Linked DNA regions of Homo sapiens: all the other regions are linked to region 3. Evidence: promoter capture Hi-C in human tissues and cell types (Jung and others, 2019). All regions are on one chromosome and are shown on one strand. The core of a region is centred on a gene start or on the middle of the fragment in contact, and the rest is flanking DNA. Distances in the headings are between cores, read along the strand shown.

Region 1 (2,700 bases), core at 171-2,670, 450 kb after region 3:
TGCTCTGTCACCGAGGCTGGAGTGTGGTGACATGATCACTGATCACTGCAGCTTCCCAGGCTCCAGCTATCCTCCCACCTCAGCCTCCTGAGTAGCTGGGACCACAGGTGCATGCCACTATGCCCGGCTAATTTTTGTGTTTTTGGTAGAGATGAGGTTTTGCCATGTTTCCTGGGCTGGTCTTGAACCCCTGAACTCAAGCAATCCATCCGCCTTGGCCTCCCAAACCAAAGTGTTGGGGTTACAGGTGTGAGCCACTGTGCCCAGCCAGCCCTGGCATCTTTTTTTTTTTTTTTTTTTTTTTTTTGAGATGGAGTTTCGCTCTGTCGCCCAGGCTGGAGTGCAGTGGCGTGATCTCGGCTCACTGCAAGCTCCGCCTCCTGGGTTCAAGCCATTCTGCTGCCTCAGCCTCCCGAGTAGTTGGGACTACAGGTGCCCGCCACCACATCCGGCTAATTTTTTGTATTTTGTTTGTTTGTTTGTTTGTTTGTAGAGACGGGGCTTCATTGTGTTAGCCAGGATGGTCTCGATCTCCTGACCTCATGATCTGCCCACCTTGGCCTCCCAAAGTGCTGGGATTACAGGCGTGAGCCATCGCACCCGGCCCCAGCCCTGGCATCTTTAAGTAGCTTTGCTAACTATTCCTGTGTCCTTAGTGGTCTTTCAACTGCTGGGAATAAATAGCCTTTACTGTCAGTGTGAATGGTTCTGAAAACTAACTGCATGATAGAACCACCTACAGAGTTCATTAAAAACATAGATGCCTGTTAGCCCAACGTGGTGGTGGGCGCCTATAGTTCCAGCTCCTAGGGAGGCTGAGGCAGAAGAATTGCTTGAACCTGGGAGCAGAGGTTGCAGTGAGCTGAGATTGCGCCATTGCACTCCAGCCTGGGCAACAGAGTGAGACTCCATCTCAAAAAACAAAAAAACGAAAACAAAAAACAAAAAACGCAGATGTCTGAGCACATCCCCAAAAATAATTAATTAAATCTTTATTGATGAGACCTGGATATCTGCATTTTAAAATAAATTCTACAAAGGATGCTAACCAGATTTTAGAATTGCTGGTATATGTCGCTTCTTTATAACTTATATGTTTTGGATTAATGATGATCTTTTTCGTCACGTGAAGACTATCTTCACAATTAGACTATAAGATTTCTCTAGGTAAGAGACAGTATATTTATATTTCCTGTGGTTACTCGAATATGATTTTGCTTAATTAATATGTCTTGCTTTTGTGAAACACATTTAACTTGTCTACTGATGATGGATCAAATTGTGAATATTATTTCCTTTTTTCATCCGAGAAGCTAGGATTAAATTCCTTTAAATGAATTTGAAGAATTTTGTATTTATAACCAGAGTCATGGGTTGTATTCCAAGTAAAGCTTTTTTTATTTTTTATTTTTTTATGAGATAGGATCTCACTATGTTGCCCACACTGGTTTTGAATTCCTGGGCTTCATATGATCCTCCCATCTCAATCTCCTGAGTAGCTGCCAGATAAAGTTTTTGAAAAGTGTTGTTGAATTGGGAATCTTTTTTCTCTTAGAAAAATAGAATTAATTTTTTTTTAATAGAGATGGGGCCTTGCTATGTTTTCCAGATGTTTGCCAGGTTGGTCTTGCACTCCTGGCCTCAAGCAATCTTCCTACCTTGGCCTCCCAAAGTGCTAGGATTACAGGTGTCAGCCACCGCACCTGGCCATTGTGCCTGGCCAAAAAATATAATTTTAAAAAGACCAGAAAGACTTTTCTTTAGAGGTAAAGATGAATGAGCCTATGTTAAAGTGTCATTGAAAGAAATTATTAATGGTCAGTCGTGGTGACTCACCCCTGTAATTCCAGCACTTTGAGAGGCTTAAGTAGAAGGATCTCTTGAGCCCAGGAGTTTGAGACCAGCCTGGGCAGCATAGCGAGACCCTATCTCTACAAAAAATAAATAAATAAGATGAAAAAGAAGTTATTTATTCTTCGATCATGATGGCAGGCAATCAAAGAATCTTGGAGGCATACTAGTTAGAGCTTTTAACCCCACAGGTCTTCATTGTCCACATCGGTGATGACCATTTTTTTAGTAGACAAGGCAAGAACTTAATGAAGAGAATTACTTTACGTTTCTTGAATTTACTACTGAAGAGTTATAGGTAGCTAATAGCTAATATTTTCGTAGCTAGTGTTGGGACACGGAAACCAACCCCCCAAAATATGGTGCTTTGATGGGCTGAACTGTATAGTATATCTGATATATTTATATAGTGTATAAAAAATCACCTGACACAATAGATGGATAATATATCTGATATATTTATATATCGTATAAGAAATCACCTGACACAATAGATATGTAATATATCTGATATATTTATATATTGTATAAAAAATCACCTGACACAATAGATGGATAATATATCTGATATATTTATATATTGTATAAAAAATCACCTGACACAATAGATGGATAATATATCTGATATATTTATATATTGTATAAAAAATCACCTGACACAATAGATGGATAATGTATCTGATATATTTATATATTGTATAAAAAATCACCTGACACAATAGATGGATAATATATCTGATATATTTGTATATTGTATAAAAAATCACCTGACACAATAGATGGATAATATATCTGATATATTTATATATTGTATAAAAAATCACCTGACACAATAGATGGATAATGTAT
Region 2 (2,700 bases), core at 30-2,529, 380 kb after region 3:
AACTCCTGGGCTCAAGCCATTTGCCCTTCTTGGCCTCCCAAAGTGCTGGGATTATAGGTGTGAGCCACTGCACCTGACCATATTTTCTTAATAGAACTGCAGTCAAGTCCTCTTAAAATTTCTCCCACCTTTCTTTCTTTTAATGCAAGGCTGAGAATAGTTCTTATCGTAGTATGCTCATAATTTTGTATATTGCTTTTTAATTTTATGTTGCCAGAAACATTTCCTTACTGCCATATTTATTGGGATGATTGAATTATAATATTAATGATGTTTAACTTTTCACATAATAGATATATCATAATGTAATGAAACATTCTGAATTTTTTTTTTTTTTTTTTTTGCCATTCAGGTGCTTTCACATTTTCTAAAACTAATTTTTAAGTTTAGTTCTTCTAGGACCTTAAATCTGGTGATCTAGAGGACTCTCAGTTTGTTGTTTTACAGTCTAGAGTCCTAGCTTAGGTTTATATTTTTAGGGGATGATAGTGACCGATTACACAGAAGTGATTTATTAGGGTTCTTTTTTAAATTTTTTTAAAAATTTTGAGACAGAATCTCGCAATGTTGTTTGGGCTGGAGTGCAATGGCGTGATCTCGGCTCACTGCAACCTCTGCCTCCCAGGTTCAAGCGATTCTCATGCCTCAGCCTCCCGAGTAGCTGGGATTACAGGCACCTGCCACCACGCCCAGCTAATTTTTTGTATTTTTATTAGAGACGGGGTTTCACTATGTTGGCCAGGCTGGTCTCGAACTCCTGACCTTGTGATCTGCCCGCCTTGGCCTCCCCAAGTGCTGGGATTACAGGTGTGAGCCATTGCGCTCTGCCGATTTATTAGGATTCTAAGAGTTCAGCTCCAGGGCTTCTACCTCAGAGCCAAGTCCGACCTTTGACAAAAAGGAACTCCTAGGGAAGTTGGGAATTTCTAATCCAGGCTGAGTAATGTCACAGTTGTATGGAAAAAGCAAAATCTATAAGGTGCCAATTTAACAGCTTGATCTCCAGAACTTATATTGGTTGTATGCCAGTACTTCCTAGAGAACAATTATCTAATATTTATATGAAAAATACTACTTTCCCCACTTTGTAACTCCCAAATCTAGAGTAGATATATACTCTATTCTGCAATTATATATCTACACATGTGCTCATGGAGTATAATGGCTCATACTTGCTCACTGTAGAATTGTGCTTATGGCGAGTTTATGCACATATGTTTAAGTATTGAAACTGAAGTAGAAAAATCAATAGAATTTTGGAATCTTGGTTGGAATTACCTTGAAAGCATATTCAGTTCCCTTTCATCTTTGATTGTTTGTTTTTGAGACAGTGTCTTGCTCTGTCGCCCAGGCAGGAGTGCAGTGGTGTGATCTTGGCTCACTGCAACCTCTGCCTCCTGGGTTCAAGTGATTCTCATGCCTCAGCTCCTAAGTAGCTGGGATTACAGGCGGGTGCCACCATGCCCAGCTGATTTTTTTGTATTTTTAGTAGAGATGAGGTTTCACCATGTTGGCTAGACTGATCTTGAACTCCTGGCCTCATGTGAGCCACCTGCCTCGGCCTCCCAAAGTGCTGGGATTACAAGAGTGAGCCACCATGCCTGGTCAGTTCCCTTTCATCTTGACAGAACTATGAACCAACCATTTTAAAGGAATGTGGATCTTCCGTATTTAAAAGAGCTCGGTTAGGGCATTCTATCACTTTTCACTTTAGCACCTGTTATGCTTCTCTGCCAGAAAACCCTTTTGAAAAATATCAAAGTAAGTTCTTTTTGCTGAGGTATAAGGGTTTTTTTCCAGTTTTCAATGGTGAGGGACAGTTACATCTGTGATAATAAAAAAGCAAAACCTTTCATTCTAGTTAAGTTTGCTTTTCCTAATTTCTTTTTGGCATTTTCAGTTGGGCATTCTGAATGATTCTGCCTGATTTAAGCAATATACATTATGCAATTATGCAATATATACACAGAGCAAAGACAGTACACAGATGCATATCATATGAATTCACAGTTATCTGGTGTGTGTATATTACATGTGCACAGAGATCTCTAGCACAAGTCAAGTACTTGCTCCAGAGTTTTCAGGCAGATTGTTGTATGCTTTCTTCTTTGTTCCTTCAGTTATAGTCATATTCTTGTGTAGTGGAATATATACTTAGTAGATGATGGAGTTGGACATTATGAGGACATTATGAGGTATTCAAATTGACACCACGCATTGTTACACATTTCTCTAACCCTTAATCTGAAAAGTGGTGGAGCAGGGAAGACCCAGGGCTGCCATATTCCATTTTATCTCCCATTTCATTTCCAAGACTGAGTGGTCCATAAAGATGTGAACCAGGTCCTCTTCTCTCCTAGGCTCCAACTACTCCACTTGTGCCAGCTGTCCTAGCTGCCCAGACCGCTGGATGAAATATGGTAACCATTGTTATTATTTCTCAGTGGAGGAAAAGGACTGGAATTCTAGTCTGGAATTCTGCCTAGCCAGAGACTCACACCTCCTTGTGATAACGGACAATCAGGAAATGGTAAATGCAAACATTTAGAAAATGTAGGGTTTTTGTTTTGTTTTTGTTTTTGTTTTTAAACTGCTATTTAAATGTATCATGTATCCTCTTTTAAGGAACAGAAGGAATCTGTGATTTGGGGGGGATACTATATTCTTCCCCTTCCCTCTTCTTCTCTTTCCTCTTCTACT
Region 3 (2,700 bases), core at 101-2,600:
TATTTCCCTTCTGTCCTGTTGAATTTCATCTTTTCTCCTTTTCTGTCTTTCTCTGAATTTCAACTGCTGATTTTACCTTTGCTTTCCATTTTACTTTGAACAAGTATTTCCAATGGACCCTTCACAAGGACCTATAGCTCAGACTTGTTTTCAAAATCTCAGTGTAAACTGAGGAGACATTTGACATTGTCTGACCTCAAGAAAATTTTCTGAAGAACATTAAATCCTCCATTAAAAATCTTTATTCTGTATATTGGATGTGATGGCTCATGTCTATAATTCCAGCACTTTAGGAGGCCCAGGCAGGAGGATCGCTTGGGCCAGGACTTAGAGACCAGCCTCGGCTGGGCTAAGACCCTGTCTCTACAAAAAAATATATTTTTAAAAAATCTTTATTCTGTAATGTAAGTTCTTTATAAAGGAGTTAAATTGAGGTAAAGTATAAGGATTAGGTGTTATTCTCATACATCCATAGTAATCATAAATGTAGGAATAGAATAAGTTCTATGACAATAACCTATCAAAAACTGCACATAAAGACATTATGAGGACCTTAACCAAATTCACACCTAAGAGGTAAGTTAAGCTACGTCTGAACAAATGGAAAGATTAGTTAATAGTAAAAGTGCCATTAACTGCCTAACAATTGGGCCTTTAACATTAAATAACTTGCTTGAATGAATTTGTCTCCTTATAATGGACACAATCATAGTGACTTTCAAGCAATTAATTTAGAATGCTTGGCATTTCTAAAATTACAAATTTTCTTACTATAGCTAAATTATTTCAGTAACGCCTCCCTAGGAAAGTGTGTCTTCAAGTTGTTTTACTGTTGAATATTTACAAAATTATTACGAAAATTAGCACTACCGTTTTTAGTACAGTACTGCTATTACCTTTTCATGATTTGAGTCTCTAAAGATTTGCTATGTTAATATTATTACCATAAATTAGTTTCAACCATGGTACAAATCTCAGGACGAATCAGTACATTGTACGCACTACTTCTTTTGCCACATGAAAAAGAGGGAAATCAAGAGAAGTCTGAAACAGAAAGAATTGGGCTGACAGCGTATAAGATCTGAATAGAAGAAAAGGAGACAGATCAAAAAATATATATGCATATTGATCAAGCTGATCTTATCAGTCAGACAGTTACATGAGAGAAAGGGATAGCTACCAGTCTCATTACTCAGATTTGCTCTGAGAGGAAGGCCAGTGCAATCACCCACGAGAAGACTGCCTCTTTACCTGTCCATAGTGGTGTCCAGAGTGTCTTCTTGCCTCCCTGCAAGTCTCAGGCCAGAAAAATCTCACTTCAATTAATGATGGTTCTCTGTCTTAGTCTGACAGTGCATTGGCCCTTCACATTCAAATTTGAGCTTGCCCTTTTGGGCTCCTCCCCTGACAGCATCACCCCCACCAGGTACCCCAACGGCCTTGCTCCTGATTTGGATCCAGTGAAGATGGGTGGGTGGGGCTGTCATAGGCAGAGTCACACAGGTTAAACCATTGAGGGCAGCTCTGCTTTAATGTTTAGGTTCCTTTGGGGCTGCTGCTCTAAAAGCCCAGTCCATGCTCCATAGCTAGCAAAGATCAGGAGGCAGTAACAGTAGACACTTCAATTATAATCATGATAACACAAAATAAAAGCACAATGAGAATAGTAATATTTATGTAAATACCTTAAAGAGCATTTAAATAGCTTCTTGGGTTATTGTGTTGAAGAGCCTCAGATAGCCTCTAATTCCCCCATATTCCCACAGTCTCTCTGAACCTCAGTACAGACAGGCACTAGCAGCTCCTGCTTTGCAGTTAAGCAAATGAACTCAGTTATATAGAATTTAGAACACAAAAATTTTGCCTCCCAAACCATGGATTTTTTTCTTTCTGATTGCATTACAAGAATTGCTTGAAGACTAGATATTTACACCAAAGAGTGATTTTTGCATGAGCCATCTTTTTTAGAAAAAAAAAAAATCCTTAATTTGGAGTCAGAAGCAGCAGCAGTCCCCCAAAATACAAAAATGCTTGTTTCACCAGACAGATTCAGTGTCTAACTGGCTGCACTGAATTTGGAAAACAGGCTAAGATCTTCAAATAAAAGACTTTAATTTTGTGCTCTCATAGAACTTGGTCTATTAAAGATTTTATTTCTCTCTCCTACTGTAGCCCATATGCATTCTATTTATTCACTGAGTAGATACTTCATGCCTACTGTTAATGGAAACTATGCCAGGTGCTAGGGATGCAATGCTAAGCAATGCAGCTAGGGTCTCTGCTCTCTTCCTGCCTCAAGCCTTTGATACCATCTATACCTTGATGATTTTCAAATCAATAGCCCTAGCTTGGACCATGTATTCGTCTGTTCTCACACTGCTAATAAAGACATGCCTGAGACTGGGTAATTTATAAAGGAAAGAGGTTTAGTTGACTCACAGTTCCACATGGCTGGGGAGGCCTCACAATCATGGCAGAAGAGCAAGGGACATCTTACATGGTGGTAGGCAAGAGAGAGCTCACGCAGGGGGAAATCCCTTTATAAAACCATCAGATCTTGTGAGACTTATTCACTATCATGAGAACAGCATGGGAAAGACCCACCCCCATTGTTCAACTACCTCCCACTGGGTCCCTCCCATGACATGTGGGAATTGTGGGAACTACAATTCAAGATGAGATTTGGGTGGGGACACAGGC
Region 4 (2,741 bases), core at 162-2,661, 420 kb after region 3:
TTAACCATTTTCAAGTGTATAATTCAGTGACATTAATTATATTCACCATGTTGTGCAGCCATTATCACTATCCATTAAAGGAACCATTTTTTTTTTCTTTTTGACATGGAGTCTCGCACTGTTGCCCGGGCTTGAGTGCAATGGCAAGGTCTTGGCTCACTGCAATCTCTACCTCCCGGATTCACATGATTCTCCTGCCTCAGCCTCCCAAGTAGCTGAGATTACAGCAGCCCACCACCACACCTGGCTAATTTTTTGTATTTTTAGTAGAGACGGGGTTTCACTATGCTGGCCAGACTGGTCTCGAACTCCTAACCTTGTGATCTGCCCGCCTCGGCCTCCCAAAGTGCTGGGATTACAGGCGTGAGCCACTGTGCCCAGCCTAAAGGAACTATTTTTACATGATAAAAAACAATGGTATGGAGTCAGCAAGGAAAACCACAATAACACAAATGCTGACTTTCCTCTCTTCCACTACTTCTACTCTCCTTGCAACTTAGTAGCCTCATTTTGAGAGGACATAATTTTAAGAAACAGTTGGCTTGTAGTTAAGGCAAAGAGGAGTGGGGATGTTCTATGTAAAGGTTGATAAGATAGGGTAACCTGTTTTCAATGTAACAGGGATTGCAGTGAGCACACCAGATAGCATCTCCCGGCAGGGGGTAGTGAGAGAATGGTCAAATTGTGGAGGCCTAGCTTGCAATGGCATGAGACTGTGGGCAGAAATTAATTTTAACATTTTAGAATTAATTTTTGTTGGGGATTTCCCTGCAGGGCTGCTGCACGTGGTGAGGGCTCAACCCCTCAGGCACTCCTGTGAGGCCCCTGGTCACCCAGGGGCACCTTTAGGCTGGGAGGGGCAAAAGCCCTTTGTCTTCAGAGCTGAAAAACTCAGTCTCTCATTTAGCTTTGAAAACAACAGTTCAGTTCCTCAGAATCAAGATAAATTTTAGGAGAAAAAGCAATAGAGAATTCCCTTTAGAATGCATCTCTGAATTAGAATTAGGATCCTTAAACAACAATTTCCTAGGAGAAAACCAGCTCAGAATAAATCAAGGACTGTCAAACAAAGGGAGGTCTGGGGCTCAGGAGGACTTACCCGTTCCACCGGGGGAGAAGCTTGAACTCAGTGGGACTTCAACGGGCCGCTGCTGGTACCTTAGCTCTGGTTTCGGGCAACTCTTTCAGGGTCCTGAGTCTTCTCTGAGGCCTCATGTATTTGGGCACCAAAATATTGTCAACAAAAAGAGTCAAACTCTATAAAATATTTGAAGATTTATTCTGAGCTAAATATGAGTGACCATGGCCCACGACGCAGCCCTCAGGAGGTCCTGGGAACATGTGCCCAAGGTGGTCGGGGCACAGCTTAGTTTTATATATTTCAGGGAGTCATGACACATCAATCAAACACACTTAAGAAATGCATTGGTTTCGCTCAGAAAGGTGGGACAACTCAAAGCAAGGGCTTCCAGGCTAAAGGTAAATTTAAATCTTTTCTGGCTGACAATTGGTTGAGTTTGTCTGACCCGTATTAATTTCCTAGTGCTGCCCTGACAAAGTACCATAAACTTGGTGGCTAAAGCCAGCGGAAATGTATGGTCTGACAGTTCTGGAGGCCCAAAGTCAAAGTGTTGGCAGGGATGGTTCCTTCTGGGGGAGAATCTACTCAGTCCACTAATTTAAATACTAATCTCTAGTGGAAACACCTGAACAGACACACGCAGAAGTAATACTTAACCAGATATATGGATATTTCATGGCCCTGTTAAGCTGACACATAAAATTAATCATCACAGAAGCTCACCTATGATTAATTGATTTTTTTGAGGGTGCAAAAAGCTACTCAGTGATGAGTATAATAAAATATTAGAAAGAGTGTTTTTGGTTGACTCAGAATTTTGGCTAAAATCTAAAGCTGAGAACAATAGGTGTTAAGAAATCCTATATTCCAAAGAGAGTTCTTAGCTTACCCTACAGGACTTTCCAAACTGGTCTAAGGACAATTACCAACAGCCCATATCAGGAAAAGATAGAGACTGATTGAAACCACCTTTGCGAAATTATGACAGTAAGAGAAAACTGACATAGTTGACTCCATTTTGCTTCTAAGCTACAAGATGTCTTCGGTGATTCCTCAGTGTAGGCCAAACTAACTTCAGGAGGCACTTAATTTATACTTTAACCTTAGAGCAAAGATGATAATAGCCCTCTCCTAAAACTAAACCACCTCTGTAAAACTAATGAAAGGCCACAGGTTAGGATTAGGAATTATGAGAGGGGCCTGAATTCTGCTAAAATGTAGGCAAAGTGAAACGATAACCAGCCATTGTTCTGGAGGTCACAAGATTTGTAACTTCCCCAATTACTCCTGTAGATGACATCAACTGTTATAGAACCCAAGATTGGCCTTTTGAGATTTTTTTCAGACTGTTAACGTTTCTCATGACCAGCTGACTCGGGCCAGACCTGCAACTCATGAGTCAATCAGTCCTGTAGCCCTACCCAGAGGCCAATTCAGTGCATGAAGACTATTTTCCACACTCCTATGATTTTACCCCAATCAATCAATATTCCCCATTCTCTAGCCCTCTGACCACCAACTATCCTTTAAAACCCCCAAAACTTTGAGCCTTCAGGGAGACTGATTTGAGTGATATTTCTGGTTCTACTACATGAGTTAGCCTCCTGTCAATCAAACTCTTTCTTTACTGCTATGCCGTAGTCTCAGTGAATTGATTTTG
Region 5 (2,700 bases), core at 152-2,651, 300 kb after region 3:
CACTTTGGGAGGCCAAGGCGGGCGGATTGTCTGAGCTCTGGAGGCTGAGGCAGGAGAATCTCTTGAACCTGGGAGGTGGAGGTTGCAGTGAGCCGAGATCGTGCCACTGCACTCCAGCCTGGGCAACAGAGTGAGACTCCGTCTCAAAAAAAAAAACAAAAAAACAAAAAAACAAAAACCCTGTCTCTACTAAAAATACAAAAATAGGCTGGGCGGGGCATGGTGGCAGGCGCCTGTAATCCCAGCTACTTGGGAAACTGAGGCATGAGAATTGCTTGAACCTGGGAGGTCAAGGCTGCAGTGAGCTAAGGTCACGCCACTGCACTCCAGCCTGGGTGACAGAGTGAGACTCAAAAAGAGTCTCAAAAAGAACATAATAAAAATTAAAATAAATAAATAAATAACATAAGAAAAAAAGAAAGAAGTCTGACATGCGTCTCACTGGGTGAAAATCAAGGTGTCAGCAGGGCTGTCTGTGTTCTTTTCTGGAAGCTCTGGGGAGGATCCATTTCCTTGCTTTTTCTGGCTTCTGAAGGCTTCCCACCTTACGTGGCTTGTGGCCCCCTTCCAGTGTCAAAGACAGAAATGACAGGTTAAATACTTCTCATGTCACATCACTGAACCTGTCTTTCCTGCCTCCCTCGTCCACTTTTAAGGACGCTTGTGATTACACTGGGTTGCCAAGGTAATCCATGATAATCTCCCTATTTTAAGGTCAACTGATTAACAACCTTAATTCCAATTGCAACTTTAATTTCTTTTTGCCATGGAGCATAACGTATTCACAGATTTCACAGATGGGGACATCCTTGGTGGGGGGGCATTGTTCTGCTTACCACAGTTTATCAGTAGACAAGAGAGAAAACAGCCAATTTAGGGAAATAATATATATATCTCTATTTTCTGCTGAGACATCTCCACAGTGTCTTTACAGACTGATAACTAGAGCTATTTCTCTAGTTAACAAAGGCAGAGTGGCCTTCCATTGCAGGTATTTACCATGGCAAATGCCAAGCTTCTTTGTGCAAATGTTTATGTGTGTGCTAAGCATTTTAAATAGATCTTTTGCATCACTCTATTTTCACACTGTGAAGGATATAATGTAGTTATGAGCTTTGAAGATGGACAGACCTGAATTTAAATTCTGACTCCATTACTTATTACACCTATGAACCTTGAGCAATTTACCTAATCTTCCAGAGCTTTAATTTCCTCATCTATAAATTAAGGATTAAAAACAGCTAGCAGAAAAGGTTATTGAGTTGAATGCAATAATGCATGTGAGGCCATGAGCAGAGGCTCTAAGTATATTTTGAATTGTTTTTCCCTTTAGATGTTTTCCCAGGTACCTGGTTCTCTGGGCCTAGGACACATAATCCCAGAGGGTATAAATCTAGTGCTTGGTCCCAACATGGTTTTGCTCCCTAAATACTGAAATAGTAGACAAGACGACACACCTGAAGCCCGAAAGAGGTAAATTTAGTATACAAGGAAGGGAATACTCTTTGTTATATAAAATAATAGTAAGTTCACTAAACTAATTAATGCATAAACTCAACTAAATTGTGAGTTAATAAGGTTGTGATGTAAACTGAATAAAACATAAAGAATGGTTTAGTTCTATTTGGTGATCACAAAAATATATTAGTTACTAAGGAAAATTAATAATAGCCTGTGCTATGTGTCAGGTCCCAATGTGAAGTGCTTTACAAACATCTCACTTATTTCCACCAACTACCAGGTGTTACCCCTGTTTTACTGAAAGCAAACCAAAGTTAAGGAAAGGTGCATAACTTGCCATCATTATAACTGTCAATACTGATGAAGAGTATGTTATCGTCAGTCTTATGCTCCTTAAGGATGTAGGGGTACTTCTATATCTTTTGCGGGCAATGATGGATGGAATATTGGGCTGAACCAATTAGTATGTTAATTTTAAACTTCTGCTTGAAGAAAGGATCTATGGTAGGTATTAGTAGCGAGAGATGAGAGGTATCCTTTATATCTTTTAATTTCATATTCTTTTCCTATGAGAGAAGGGCAAGAATCTAGGAAATTAATTCAGTTAACTAATATTTATTGGACATTTTCTATTTTCCAGGGATTACGAAATATCCCTCTTCTACATTTATCATTTAGACTTCAATTGTCTTCACTGAAAACTGAGGGGCTTAGTTTTAAAGTTCTTTTTTTTTCCTTTAAATATCTAAGAGCCTATAAATCCACTCAATCTTCATTTTCTCCCAACTAGACCTTAAAGTGGCATGCAGAATTATAGTGAGACACAGGTGGGCTGTGTATGGTGGTTCACAGCCACAGTTGGTGGTGGGGAGAGTAAAGGTTATGATTTCCTTTTTTCTCTACTTCTTCCTATCCATATTTGCATAAAAACATGGTCACACATTCTTACTTGATTACTTGTAGAAAGACACATTCCAAAGATACTAACACCTTTAGGGTAAAGGACATCTCTTCCTTCACAATTTATTGCAGAATGCTAGGTTTACAGGAGAAGCTTGAGGAATGCTTAAGCAATGTTCAGTTGATATGAAAAGTTCTATTAGCTTAACTTCTAGTCTATTTGCTTCAGTTGCTGCCAAACATCGACAGCCTTTCAAACCAGGATCCTTCCTTATTTAGAGAAGTTTGCAGGAGGGCTTCCATTTCCATACACCGGATTAAATGCTTTTCCTTCTCACC

What was found. The method cuts DNA at HindIII sites, captures the fragments that hold promoters and counts their contacts. A contact is called where the count stands out against the background at its distance.
Region 1: a fragment that was not itself captured here is called in contact with the fragment with the promoter of AICDA in region 3 in 1 of the 25 tissues and cell types used here (adrenal gland).
Region 2: a fragment that was not itself captured here is called in contact with the fragment with the promoter of AICDA in region 3 in 1 of the 25 tissues and cell types used here (aorta).
Region 4: a contact is called between a fragment that was not itself captured here and the fragment with the promoter of AICDA in region 3, in 1 of the 25 tissues and cell types used here (H1 embryonic stem cells).
Region 5: a fragment that was not itself captured here is called in contact with the fragment with the promoter of AICDA in region 3 in 2 of the 25 tissues and cell types used here (H1 embryonic stem cells and liver).

What each region holds. Positions count from the first base shown.
Region 1 is chr12:9,059,716-9,062,415 of GRCh38, forward strand. The region is part of intron 1 of LINC00612 (long intergenic non-protein coding RNA 612); the gene reads right to left. It also overlaps a transcript of KLRG1 not described here. Among named protein-coding and RNA genes, the nearest start is that of LINC00612, 4.0 kb to the right of the region's middle. The HindIII fragment of the contact is 7,716 bases long and covers 1-2,700 here.
Region 2 is chr12:8,992,759-8,995,458 of GRCh38, forward strand. KLRG1 (killer cell lectin like receptor G1) reads left to right here. Exons shown (of 5, transcript NM_005810.4): 3 at 2,361-2,530. Among named protein-coding and RNA genes, the nearest start is that of KLRG1, 4.6 kb to the left of the region's middle. The HindIII fragment of the contact is 5,260 bases long and covers 1-2,700 here.
Region 3 is chr12:8,611,509-8,614,208 of GRCh38, forward strand. It overlaps AICDA (activation induced cytidine deaminase), which reads right to left and starts at 1,351. Exons shown (of 5, transcript NM_020661.4): 1 at 1,252-1,351. The coding sequence starts at 1,259. The HindIII fragment of the contact is 12,992 bases long and covers 1-2,700 here.
Region 4 is chr12:9,030,323-9,033,063 of GRCh38, forward strand. It overlaps a transcript of KLRG1 not described here. Among named protein-coding and RNA genes, the nearest start is that of LINC00612, 33 kb to the right of the region's middle. The HindIII fragment of the contact is 4,513 bases long and covers 1-2,741 here.
Region 5 is chr12:8,909,352-8,912,051 of GRCh38, forward strand. No RefSeq gene overlaps it. Among named protein-coding and RNA genes, the nearest start is that of PHC1, 3.8 kb to the right of the region's middle. RefSeq lists an enhancer at 2,291-2,700. The HindIII fragment of the contact is 5,079 bases long and covers 1-2,700 here.